Regions from separate parts of the Homo sapiens genome. Here regions 2, 3 and 4 are each linked to region 1. The links are contacts of gene promoters, found by promoter capture Hi-C in human tissues and cell types (Jung and others, 2019). All regions are on one chromosome and are shown on one strand. Each heading gives the region's core, a stretch centred on a gene start or on the middle of the fragment in contact. The rest is flanking DNA. Distances are from core to core; before and after follow the strand shown. Region 1 holds the start of KCNJ12 (potassium inwardly rectifying channel subfamily J member 12). Region 2 has its middle 53 kb from the start of LINC02693. Region 3 has its middle 73 kb from the start of LINC02693. Region 4 has its middle 72 kb from the start of KCNJ12.

Region 1 (3,189 bases), core at 482-2,981:
CCAAAGGCGGCTGCCGATTTCAGTGGCGTGTGGGCGCCTCGGCGCTCTCGGAGACGGAGCCTGTGAACCTGGGTTTGGGGCGCAGATGTGGGAGCCAGGAGGTCCCCAGCGCTTTATTGCAGGGCTCGAACCTGGGTATAGGGGAGCAAAAAAGAAACTAGAAATGGCCACAGGCAGCGCGGTACTCTAAGATGGGAACGCCCCCTGGGAAATGGGGAGGGGGAGGTCCCAGGTGCGGGCGAGTCCAGGCTGTGAGGAGGCAGGAAAACCTCCCAGAACAAGACCGTCCCCAAAGAAACACTTTGACCCCCATTCTGATCACAGGTTTTAAAATATTCACATGACATGGGCACGCTGGATCAAAACCGAGGCACAGACACTCGCTTGGGCCTCAACTCCCATCTGAACCCCCCAAGGAGCGCCCCACCCCAGCTGTCTCTGCCCATGAGCCCCTGATTCCCGCCCCGCTCCCCCAGGGCACCCGGAGAGGCCGTGCGCGCGCAGGGTGGACCCTGGCCCTGAAACCCTGGGAGCTTCTCAGCCAGCGGCCATCCCCTCGGAGATCAAGGCCGACTTCTAAAAGCAAAAGGGAGCCTCTGGACTTGGCTGACTTGCTGGCATGGAATCATTTCCAGAATATTTTTACTCCATTACAGCACGGGAGGTGAGAAAGAGACACGACTCCAAGAACCCGCAGGTCTCTGACGGGAGGCATTCTCGGGGCGGCTCATATAGCCCGGGCGCCCACCTCCGAACCCCACCTCGATCGCGGGGTCTCCGGGAAGGTCACGCGTAGGACCCGTGCCGCGCGCCAGAGTGCTTCCGCACGCTCCCTCCCGAGCCCCCTAGTGCAAACCAGTCAGAGGGGGGCCGAGGGCTCCTCAAAGTTTCCCGGAGCGCCCCCCAGGACGAAGGTTAGCCAGGAGCAAAGTTCCTTGTGGTGGTAGCCGGAGACATGGCAGGAAAAGAAAAGCTCGCAGTCAGCATTTCCTCCGATGTCTCACCAAGGGAGGGAAAAAAATAAAACGAGAGGAAGAAAACACCCTCCCGCTCCACCTTCCCTGTTGCTGCACAACCTCGTGCTAGCTCCGGGCCGGGCTAGTGGCGAGGCGCGGCCTGCGGGGAACTGGGGCCGGGCCCGGGAGGGACCATGCGCCCGCGGCCGCGCACTTACCTCGGTCAGTGGCCCGGGCGCGGCGCGCTCGGCGTCCTCCAAGCTCCGGGCGGCCGTTCCTGGCCCCGGCAGCTGCCGCGCTGGCTGCATCGCCGCCGCTGCCGCCACCGCCTCAGGGCAGCTCCCGGGGGCGCTCCATGCCGAGGGGCGCGTCTTCTCTGCAAAGCGGATCGCCCTGGTCCAGCCACGGGTCGGGGGCGCGCGCCTGGACGGCGCCCCCGGCCGCTGGGCGCTCGCTTGGGCCGGGGCGGCTGGCGTCGGTCCCTCGGTCCGGCTGTGAGCACGGCCGGCCCACCCCCTCCCCCGCCGGCTGTTATCTGATCTCGGGCAGGGCCCGGCGCGCTCCCCTACGCCCCGGCGCCCCGCACCTCCTCGCAGGCTCTGACCGCGCCAGTCCCCCTCCCCCGGCTACTGTTCCCAGGGAGGCGGCAGCAGTGGCGGTGTGGCCGGGAGAAGACGGGGAGCGAGGAATGGAGGGCGAGGAGGCGGCGGGAGGCAGAGGCTCGGCGCGCACCCAGCTCCGCGCCTCGCTCCACCGGAGCTCAGCTCGGCAACTCCTCTAACTCTCCGCGGAGAGCACGCCCGCCCCGCGCCGCGCCGCGCCGCGCAGCCGCTGCACCAGCCTACCACGGCTCCGGCCTGGCCCCGAGCCCCTCCTAGTCCCGGGCCGCCCCCTACACACACACCGCCAGCCACTTGCGCACTGGGACGCGCGCGCGCACACACACATATATATATACACACACACACACACACACACACACACACACACAGGCACGACTTCCCGGGGACATGCGCGCACACACACATACACACACATGCAGGCACGTCCGCCGGGGACACGCGCGCACGCACAGGTGCATGGCGAGCACACACACAGGCATAAACATGCAGGATACATGCCCCCACATGCATGATGTTCGCAGGGGCACATGTGCACACTCGCTCATATGTGCACATGCAGGATGGCATCTGCACGTGTGCATACGCACACACAGGTCTAAGCTTGTGCATTCCCACAGAGCCCTTTTCCCCTGCACACCAGGCACGCACCCTCTACACACACCATCCCACCCTAATAGCATTTTTCTCCTCTCCATCTTGAGCTGCTTGGCTTCTCCCATCTCCTGCCTTCTCTGTGCTCCTCCCTGGACCTCTCTCTGCCGACCGGATCCCCATGTGACCCCCTTCTCTTTCGAGCCCCTGTCTCTGGAGGCTCAGGCTTTCTTCCCAACCTGTCCCCAAATGCCCTGCCCTCCCAGCTTTCTGAGGCCTATTGTCTGGGCCTCATATCTCTGAGCCTCCCGCAGGGGCCAAGTCTTTCATCCTGGCAGACAGACCTGCTCGCCTGGACACTGACCCAGGGGAACTCCATTTTGTCACCAGTCTGACCCCCAGCTCGGCCCTAGGGCCTCAGAATTGGGCCGAGGAGGCCAGTCTGTGCCCAGAGCATGAGCCTCAAAGGGCTCCTTGGCCCCCTTGGCCTCCAGCTTCCCCTTTAATGTGAAATATAATTATGTGTCTGCACAGCAGGGAGACTGGCTGCAGGATTCTAACCGAGGAGGACGGCTCTCTGGCCCGCACCCAGATTGCTGGCGGCTCAGAGCAGAGTGATCTGCAGGCCCCACCAGCCCTAGGATCCTGGCCCCAGGCAGCTGGTGGGTGAAATCCAGCCCAGCACTCACCGACATCAGTCTGCCCTGGGTTTGAATCCCACCTCAACTGACTAGCTGTGGGACAGGTCACTTCACCACTCAGTGCCTCTGTTTCCCTGTTGTCAGTAGAAATCACTACACTCATGGGGCTGTAGCAAGGATTAAATGAGATGAGTCTACCTAAAGTGCTTAGCACTTGACTTGGCTGGTAAAACAGCCAGGCGGAGCACTCAATATGTTCTGAGCTCTGTGCTATGGACCCAGCTAGAATTATTTCATTACCACTGCGGCCATCTGTGGTGGATAAGCTCATTGGCTCCATTTTACAGATGAAGGAACTGAGGCACAGAGGGGTGGTCA
Region 2 (3,189 bases), core at 389-2,888, 120 kb before region 1:
CTTCATCCCCGTCCCCATTTCCTGGCAAAAAGCTCCTAAAACCCTTGGAATCTCCAGAGTACTAAGAGTGTCATTTGTGTGCTAATGAAATGACTGGTGGCTGGGGACCCTGGAGAGCTTCAGGATGGGGGCTGGCCACCAGAAAGACAGAGGCGGGATTAGGGAGTTGGGACTTTTAGCCCCACCTGCCAACCTCTGGGGAGACGAGAGGGACTGAAGGTTGAGCTGATCACCAATTGCCAGTGATGTGGTTGATGATGCCTCTGTAATGCCGCTTCAGTGAAAACCCACAAGGACAGGGTTTGGAGAGCTCCCAGATAGCTGAATACGTGGAGTCTGGAGGGTGGTGTGTCTGGAGCTGGTGTGGGAGCTCTGAGCCCCTTCCCAGATGCCTCACCCTGCGCACCTCTTCCATCTGCCTCTTCATTTTCATCCTTTGAAATATCCCTTGTAATAAATGAAGAAGTGTAAGTAAAGTGTTTCCCTGATCTCTGTGAGCCACTGTAGCAAATTAATCAAACCCGAGGAGGGGATGCTGGGAATCCTGATTTGCAGCCAGTTGGGCAGGAGCACAGGTCACAACCTACTACTTGTGACTGGCATCTGAAGCAGGGACAGTCTGGTGGGACTGAGCCCTTAACCTGTGAGGTCTGACACTGTCCAGGTAGAGAGTTTCAGAATGGAATTGAATTAGGAGACACCCAGCTGTTATCTGCTGAAGGAATGGTTGGTGCGGAGAAATCTCTACACTTTTTAGTGACCAGTGATCAGAGAAATACAATTATCCTTTGGTATCTTCAAAGGGATTGGTCCCAAAACTCCTCCTCTGGAAGGGTTTTGGTGATTTGGACACCAAAATTACCGGATGCTCAAGTCCCTTATATATGAAAGTATAGTATTTGCATATAACCTACACATATCCTCCACATGCTTTAAATCAGGGGTGTCCAATCTTTTGGTTTTCCTGGGCCACAATGGAAGAAGAATTGTCTTGGGCCATACATAAAATACACTAACACTAACGATAGCTGATGAGCTTTAAAAAATCGCAAAAAAAAAAATCATAATGTTTTAAGAAAGTTTACAAATTTGTGTTGGAGGGTAGGCCACAGGTTGGACAAGATTGCTTTAAATCACCTCTAGATTACTTATATCTAATACAATGTAAATGCTATGTAAATAGTTGTTATATTGTATTGTTCAGAGAATAATGGCAAGAAAAAATCTGTACATTTAGTACAGACACAATCATTCTTTTTTTTCAAATGTTTTTGAATCGAGGTTGGCTGAATCCATGGATGCAGAACCCGTGGATATGAAGGAGAGACTGTATTCTGTGTGGAATTTATGCTGAATGGAGTGGCAGAACATACATATTCAATAAACTATAGGAGGAGCAATGAATATTTATGAAAGGAGAAATGTGAATGTGCCATTGAGTTTCATGCCTCTTCATGGGTCACGTGTTCATGCGAGGGTGTAGTTTTTAGCCTCTGACATCAAAAGGTGAAGCAGGGGCCACAAACCACTCACTGTGCATCCTCTGTGAGCCAGCCAAAACTGGTCCAGAGGCGGTGGTCCATTTTAGGAAGGATGCACTGTGAAGCTGGTGACTGTCACTCCAAAACTGCAAAGAGGTAGGGTGAGTCCAGCCACGGCCTCAGATGATTGGCTACAGATGATAAAGGAATGAGTCCTGTGTTTCTTGTTTGCCAGAGCTGGTTTCTGCTTACTCCTTAGGAAAGAGTTCTGGCTAAAGGTTAATATGGAAGGGACATGGTGAAGTGTATCTGACCTCCCATCCCATCATGGCCAGGAGCTCAGTTTTTAAGGTTTCTCTGGGGCCCTTTGGCCAAGAGAGGGTTCTATCAGTCAACTGGGGGAACTTAAGATTTAATTTTTATTCCTCGGGTCAATGTAGTAGACCTTGCAACTTTAAAATAAGCATTATCAGGTCTAAGAACTCAGTGTGTGAGCACCGCTCAAGCATCACAGCCTGCTGCCAAGATGCTAAATGTTGTAAGAAAATTAATAACTTAAGGTAAAAACTGACCTCCATGAAGATGAAAAGCCTGAAGACACTGTAACTCTAGAGAAAGGAGCATGTGTCCCTGTTGCAGGGACGGCAGCGTCCATTTCAGGGCACACTGCAGGCATGCCAGAGTTTTTCAGGAGTCTGCCAGGTGTCCTGTCCTGTCACTTGAGACTCCAGCCCAGGGACAGACAGAAAACCGGAAGACAGCACCTCCTGGCCAGGATCCCAGCATCTATTTGAGGGAGACAAGATGAGAAGGAACATTGTTGTAGCAAAAATAATAGGTTCTCCACTTCCCTACACAGGAGGAAATTCCCATACCTTGATAGGAGGCAGTTCCCCTTCCTGCCCACCTTGGCACAGGCAGTCACACTGCCCACCTGTATGTTGAGGGATGGTGCAAGAGGGCAGCACTGTCTGAGTTGGGACATCCACAAGCCCCTGCTCCTGCCCACCCTTGGCTTTAGTGCTGGTCCCTCTTGGCCCTGGCCTGAGGTCCTCCACCCTTCTTCAGTTCTCCCTCTCAGGCCTCCATCATCTCACAGCTTTTCTTCCAATCTCTCCTCTTTTTTCTTTTTGATGATGTTTCAAAAGAGTCAGCACTTTGGAAGACAACTGTAGACTTGCTTTCAAATGCAGAGTGTCAGAGAGCCATGGTCTGCCCGCAGGTGGCCTGCAGCTGGGCAGAGCTGTGCCTCTGATGGCCAAGGGGGAGGTCACAGTTGCTGCTTCTGTCCTCCTCAATGCTCCTGTGACACAATTAGAACAAAGCCTTACTGCCGTGACAAAGAAGAGGCAAACTCATGCTGGTGGGTGTCTTGTCCAGAGTATGTCAGCCACCCCGTGAGTTGGCAGAGCCAATGGGCAGACACACAGGATGAGGTTACAGGAAGATGTTCTCCTGCAGCAGATCTGAGGAGACAGAGACCCCAGCAGTTGGCCCGAGAAGCTCCCACCTGCACCTCCAGCATCAACAGGCAGACAGAGCACTCCTGTGAGAGGGGACAAGGCAAGTCTGGGGGCCTTGGAAGACTGCAGGAAGAGCTGTGGAGGGTGTGAAGCAGGTTCACTAACGACCAGTCCAAGGGAGGCCTCCCACTGCATGGAGAGCTGCAGAGATCATCACTGCTCCTCCCACAAGGAATATTTGGCCT
Region 3 (3,189 bases), core at 343-2,842, 100 kb before region 1:
TCCATCTCTGGCCGTGGCCAATTCAGATCTACGCCGGTGCATATGTTCCAGTAGTGCCTTAATCTGCCTTTCCAGGGAAAGGCCAGGAGGTGGCTTCCCATCATTACCAGAACGCAAGGCGTCTTCCTGCAGTACGTGCAGAAAAGGCAGCCCGTCATCCAAAAATTCACTCTCAGAGATGGATGAAGAAAGCAAAGACTTGCGTTGCCACGTGCAGGTAGGGAGAGTGCTTGTGCAGACCACACCTCCAGTCTCCCGTGGAAGCTGAGATGCCTTCAGCCTCAGGTCCACTCACTGTGACACTGGGCAGGTGATACTGGAATGGGAATCTCCCAGCACTAATCAGGGCAACAAGGATAAGATGAAGAAAGCCCTTATGAATTGGCGTCTTACAACAAAACTCCGTGAGCGCTTGACACATACAGACAGAGAGAGTGCCACCTGGGCCTCATGCGTCTTGAGTCCCCAGTCTGGTCAGACTGCTGCCTGACACAGAGCCACACTCTGTGCCCCTCAGATGGCGGAGACCAGAGAGGCGTCCTCCTTGTCACACAGCCAAGCTCTCAGGACATAAAACGAGGCGAGAGGGGAACCCCATCCCTTTTGTTTTTTTGTTTCAGGGACCCACAGCACAGTTTGCTTAGGCAGACATGGGTCTGACAAGTGCCACAAACCCAAGCGCTGGGGACCCAGCAGACTTTGAAGGACCTGTGCCTGTGTTCTCTACCTGACGCTTCCTCTCCTTATGACAAATGGCAGGAAAAAGACAGAGACAAAGGAAAACAAAGACCATCTCTGAGATCAAAAGGATCAAATAGAAACCTAGAGAACTCACAAAAACACTAAAAGTCGCTTTTTACCCAAAGAATTAGTTCACAAATGTTTTATCCTGTCAATCTCAATTTAGAGACAGAAAAAGACACAAATCTTTTATCCTGTCAATCCCAATTTAGAGAGAGAAAAAGACACAGACAGCAGAGACCTGGAAGGCTGGCAGTAAGAACCCTGCCTTTGCTGGCTCGGGTCAGAGGTCCCGGGTCTTAGCTGCAGTAGCTCCAGAATAAGCAGCGTCCTAGCCTGTGAGGGAGGGCCCCGGGCTCTGCGCCACGTTCTGCAGAGACCCAGAGATCGCCTCCAACCCCACTTAGCTCTTACATGGGATCCTTGGCTGGAACCTCGGCTAGAAACCAAATTGAAACCAAGCATATTAACAAGAGAAAAGCATAAAAATTGTATTATATTAAAGGTACATGGGGATCTTCCCAAATTAGTGACGTCTGAAGAAGTAGCCAAAGCAAGATGCTTTTGTACTTTTTAGACAAAGAATAATAAATTTGAGAAGAAATGACAAGGCCAAGCAGAATCTGGCTAGGGACAGTAAATTTCCAGGGGAGCCTCTAGGTGATATGCAGGAATATAAAATCAGTGGGCAACACGGCTTACTTCGTGAAGTACATTTACTCGGGTCCGTTGCTACCCCTAATCCCCAGTCTCTGGTGCTAAAGGCTCTCTTCTTGCCCTTGTGTGGGGGTGCCGCCCCCAGAGGAGTCTTTATGGCTTGCTACATGCAGGAAGAGGCAGGTCAGCTCACCCTTTCTAAAACTACAATTTCTCTAATGTTTTTAACATAAAATTATCAATATACCAATTGGGCATATTTTGGGATGGCATTCACTCCTTCAAGGGAAAGGTGGGCTGGGGAGGTGCGGGGTCAGGTGAGGATGTGGTGAAAGACTCGGTGGGGTATGGATGGAAATGGGCTCTAGGGGAAGAGGGAACAGGCATGGAAGGGGTGAGGAGAGAGAGGGCCATGAGCCATGGGTCTGGAGGCAGAGAGGCAGGCACTGGTGCAGGTGATGAAACCTCACATGAGGGGCGGCACAGGTCAGGGGGAAGGTGGAGGCCACTGGTGAGGAGACCGGGGGTCGGGGTGGACAACTCCATAGATCCCAAAGGTGATGGGAAAGAGCAGCATCTTCCCTGGCTTCCCACACAGCAGCATGTTGGCCCCCAGGGATAGTCCATCACCCCCCTGGGCAGGGCTCACACTTCTGACACCCAGACTCTAGAATACTCCTCCATCCCCACCCAGGGCAGATCCCTGCCCTAGAAGTTCTCTCTCTCATGTCTGGCAAATGCTGCATAGAGCCCTGGAATTCCACAGGGCAAGTTAGGAAGAGGGACAGCTGAAAAGAGGAAGTAATCACCTTCCCCAAAGAGAAGTTCAGTCCAGTACCATCTTGTGCCCCTGGGCAAGCTCTCCAGGCTGAGGGAACAGGAGCAGGGGTTATGTTGGGCAAAGGTGGAAGCAAGGGACCTCCCAGGAAGTGCTGTAGAATGTTCCAATGGGGACACCTCATACCCTTCCAGGATTAGACCTTGAAACCTGGAGATCCCAGGAAATTAGTATTCAAGGTTGAAGGGCCAGCGACAGGAATAGGAAGGCCCACTGTGTCATTCACAAAGCACTTCCAAACACATCACCCCAGGTGACCCTCACAACAACCCCGTGAGATCTGCAGGGCAGGGGCTCCCACAAAGAAGGAGTCGGGAATGTCGGGATTTTAACACTTTCTCTAAGTCAGAACCAGGAAATGCTGTCCCAGCACCAACCTATATTCCCTAGGCTTCCTCCCACACTACAGCTTAAGGTGACTGCTGCCTCATGGGCAGAGACCCTCGCTTTCCAATCCCTACAAGGGGCTGTGCAGGGGGGAGGATGAAGCCCCTCCTCTGACTGTCTCCTCTAAGATCCTGTTTTCTGAGGAAAGTCACTCTGGGAACTGTCGGCCTCTGCAAATGGGAGCCCGGACCTCATGGAAAGAAGATGTGAAGGTCACACCTGGAAGGGACCAGCGCTGGAGAGCAAACCTCACCTTTTAAAATTCCCAACTTGCATGTCCTCTTGCCACTGCATTGGTGCTGACTTCTAAAGGAGCAGCGGACGTGAAAAAGTTGACTTTCTTCTAGGTTAACTTCATGAAGATTGCTAAAGTGATGAAAATATTTATCCTATTCTCTATAAAGCTCCAGCGAATACAGTTTTCTGCACATGCTTATCAAGGTATCTTTCAGCCAGGAGCCCTCTGCTGAGGAACAGCAGAAGGCCCGGGAGGGGTGCTGGACCTGCTGGGGTGGGAGCAGGGGGAGAGCTGACTGTTTTGTCCCGTCCTGAGTGCAAGAGTCATC
Region 4 (3,189 bases), core at 242-2,741, 72 kb before region 1:
CGATTCTAATGAACAGGAAATATTTTGTTTCCTATTTTAAAAGATACCATTAAATCATGATGAATATTTTTCAATTTATTACAGATGTGTATTCAAGGGGTTGCCATTTCACCTGCTTCAGTCTTCCCTCTAAACCAATCCTAAGACATACCTAGGCTGAATTCATATCACATGAAAATTCATCATCTGATGTCCTACTAGGTCAAAAAGTATAAAAACTGACATTATGGAGAAAGACTTCATTGCAACCAGGACACAAAGACACTAAGGCACACAGTGCTCAGAGCGGCGTGCTGACAAGATCTCTGGTGGGAGGCCATTGTCTGGACACCTGCTGGGCTTTGTCCTGGACACCATTCATTCACTTGAGCATGTTTGGTACCCAGGGTTCCTTCAGGTACATCAGTATTCAGTGGCGTGCCCAGAAGTCAGATGATTCTGATGTCAGGGGTGCGAAGTCAGACTCAACTTGCTTTGGGAAGTCCACTGGGGTGCAGGCTGTGTCAGGAAGCTTCCTGGCAGGGAAAAATCAACAGTATCAGCTAGGATGGAAGTACATCAACTGATGATGACCCTGCACATGTGGCTTTATCAACGACGGATCTGCCAGTCTCCAAAACAGTGCAGATTCAATGCAATCCAGGAGGAAATTCACTCACGTGACCAGGCAAAATGCAACTAACAATTCACAGTGCTTTTTGGTTGTGGAGACCTTTCTCTGGGCTACTGTTTCCCAAAGGAAATCTATGTCTTCAGAAATAAATAAACTGATCAAAAGATACTTTCAAATGTTTCATGTAGAATTGTTTCTAATCTTCTAGCTATAGGATACTTCGTTACCCAGAGAATGCGCCACTCTCCTGCCTGTGCATGGGGCTCATCCGCTCCCAAGACATCCAGGGCCTCTGGGTGCTATAATTCAGAGGGTCTCTGAAAGAGCACGAGGGAGACTGTTGACATGAATGGTTTTCTCTTTTGGCTACACCTGTCTTACACGGAGTTCTATGTGTCATTCAAATACCTTCACATATTAAACTTCAGGACATTCCAAGTCTCATGAAAATCTCGCAAAGGAAATTTCCCAAGGGTTTTAGGCCCTCCTCTCCCATTTGGGAGGTTTTGTTGATTTCTAACTGCAGAATGAGGTGCTGGAACATGCCAGGTTCTGGTTCCCATGGCCATAACGGAGCTGGACGACAGGGGTGACCACAGAGGCACAGTCCTGAAAGCATTGCACAGTAAAAATGCAGAGTATCTACTCAGGGTAGAGGATGGCTACAGAAACATGCTCAGCTTGTCATGGTGGGTACAGTGGGCATGGGAAGGGGGCACAGGAAGCTCAGGGGCACCCCCAACCTCCACCATGATACCAAAAGATGTAACTGACCACTGGGAGGAGGGCCCCACATGGTCCTGCTGTGTCCTCTTCGATCTGCTTGGCACTTTTGCTGTTGCAGAGCTCCTCTGAAGCAGGGTCCCATGCAGCAGCAGCACTGAGGACTGCGTCCACAGTAACAGCCTCTCAGATGTGTGTGAGGCATCTCGTGCAAGGTCAATGGCAGGCCCAGTGCTGTTACGTGAGCAACTACTTTTTACAATTATTTTAAAACAATATATGGCAACATTGGGAAGCTGCTTTCCTTTAAAATGGTTCAATGTTTTTAGTTTGGACAAGATATGACTAAATTAATTTTCACATCATTGTGCTCAGGCACAAGCTCATGCATGAGGCATGACCAAAAATAGTTCTGGAAAGATCAGGCCAGTCTACAAGCCAAGGGCACATGTATGATGGAGGGCACCTATAGACGGTGGGGACACAGGAGGAGCATGCCGAGAAACCCTGTGAACTGACCTTCCCGCTGCCAAGGTTGCAGCCTCCACCACTGCAGCTCTGACTCACAGTTTACATTGCTGAAGTCAAATAAAATATAGAGATGACTCTCTAAACTTAACACTGATTATTTAGGAGGCAAGAATGGCAAAGTGGGGCATACTCACAGATCGGGTGGTCTTCAGTGTGTTCCAAGAACAAAGAGAAAGTTGAGAGTTTTTATTTTAAAATTCATATGGAACCAGAATAGCCCAGGGGCAATCCTAAGCAGAAAGAACAAAGCTGGAGGCATCACGCTACCTGACTTCAAACAGTATTACAGGGCTACAGTAATCAAAACAGCATGGTACCGGGACAAAAACAGGCATATAGACCAATGGAACAGAATAGAGAACCCAGAAATAAGGCCGCGTACTTACAAGTATCTGATCTTTGACAAACCTGACAAAAACAAGCACTGGGGAAAGGATTCTCTATTCAATAAATGGTGCTGGGATAGCTGGCTAGCCATATGCAGAAGATTGAAACTGGACCCCTTCCTCTCACCATATACAAAAATTAACTCAAGATGGATTAAAGCAGAGGTCCCCAACCCCTGGGCAATGGACTGGTACCATTCTGTGGCTTGTTAGGGACCAGGCCGTGCAGCAGGAGGTGAGTGGCTGGTAAGCAAGCATTACCACCTGAGCTCCACCTCCCATCAGATCAGCAGCAGCATTAGATTCTCATAAGAGTGCAAACCCTATCGTGAAATGCACATGTGAGGGATCTAGGTTGTGCACTCCTTTTGAGAATCTAACTAATACCTGATGATCTGAAGTGGAACAGTTTCATCCCGAAATCATCTCCCTGCCTACTGCTCTCTGTGGGAACATTGTCTTCCACAGAGTCAGTCCCTGGTGCCAAAAAGGTTGTGGACTGCTGGATTAAAGACTAAAATGCAAAACCCAAAACTGTAAAAACCCTGGAAGACAACCTAGGCAATACCATCCTGGACATAGAAACGGACAAAAATTTCATGATGAAGACACCAAAAGCAATTGCAACAAAAGCAAAATTTGACAGATGGAATCTAATTAAACTTAAGAGCCTCTGCAGAGCAAAAGAAGCCATCAACAAAGTAAACAGAAAACCTACAGAATAGGAGAAAATATTTGCAAACTATGCATCTGACAAAGACATAATATTCAGCATCTCTACGGAACTTAAAGAAATTTACAAGAGAAAAACAACCCCATTAAAAACTGGGCAAAGGACATGAAGAGACACTTTTCAAAAGAAGACATACATATGGCCAACAAGCATATGAAAAAAAAGCTCAATATCACTGATCATTAGAGAAACGCAAAACAAAA

Evidence for each region. Contacts are between HindIII fragments. The study calls those that stand out against the background at their distance.
Region 2: a fragment that was not itself captured here is called in contact with the fragment with the promoter of KCNJ12 in region 1 in 2 of the 25 tissues and cell types used here (H1 embryonic stem cells and mesendoderm cells).
Region 3: a contact is called between a fragment that was not itself captured here and the fragment with the promoter of KCNJ12 in region 1, in 2 of the 25 tissues and cell types used here (H1 embryonic stem cells and IMR-90 fibroblasts).
Region 4: a contact is called between a fragment that was not itself captured here and the fragment with the promoter of KCNJ12 in region 1, in 3 of the 25 tissues and cell types used here (IMR-90 fibroblasts, dorsolateral prefrontal cortex and spleen).

Annotation. Positions count from the first base shown.
Region 1 is chr17:21,374,899-21,378,087 of GRCh38, reverse strand. It overlaps KCNJ12 (potassium inwardly rectifying channel subfamily J member 12), which reads right to left and starts at 1,731. Exons shown (of 3, transcript NM_021012.5): 1 at 1,175-1,731. The HindIII fragment of the contact is 9,762 bases long and covers 1-3,189 here.
Region 2 is chr17:21,497,298-21,500,486 of GRCh38, reverse strand. No RefSeq gene overlaps it. Among named protein-coding and RNA genes, the nearest start is that of LINC02693, 53 kb to the left of the region's middle. The HindIII fragment of the contact is 4,866 bases long and covers 1-3,189 here.
Region 3 is chr17:21,477,179-21,480,367 of GRCh38, reverse strand. No RefSeq gene overlaps it. Among named protein-coding and RNA genes, the nearest start is that of LINC02693, 73 kb to the left of the region's middle. The HindIII fragment of the contact is 5,667 bases long and covers 1-3,189 here.
Region 4 is chr17:21,446,449-21,449,637 of GRCh38, reverse strand. No RefSeq gene overlaps it. Among named protein-coding and RNA genes, the nearest start is that of KCNJ12, 72 kb to the right of the region's middle. The HindIII fragment of the contact is 6,245 bases long and covers 1-3,189 here.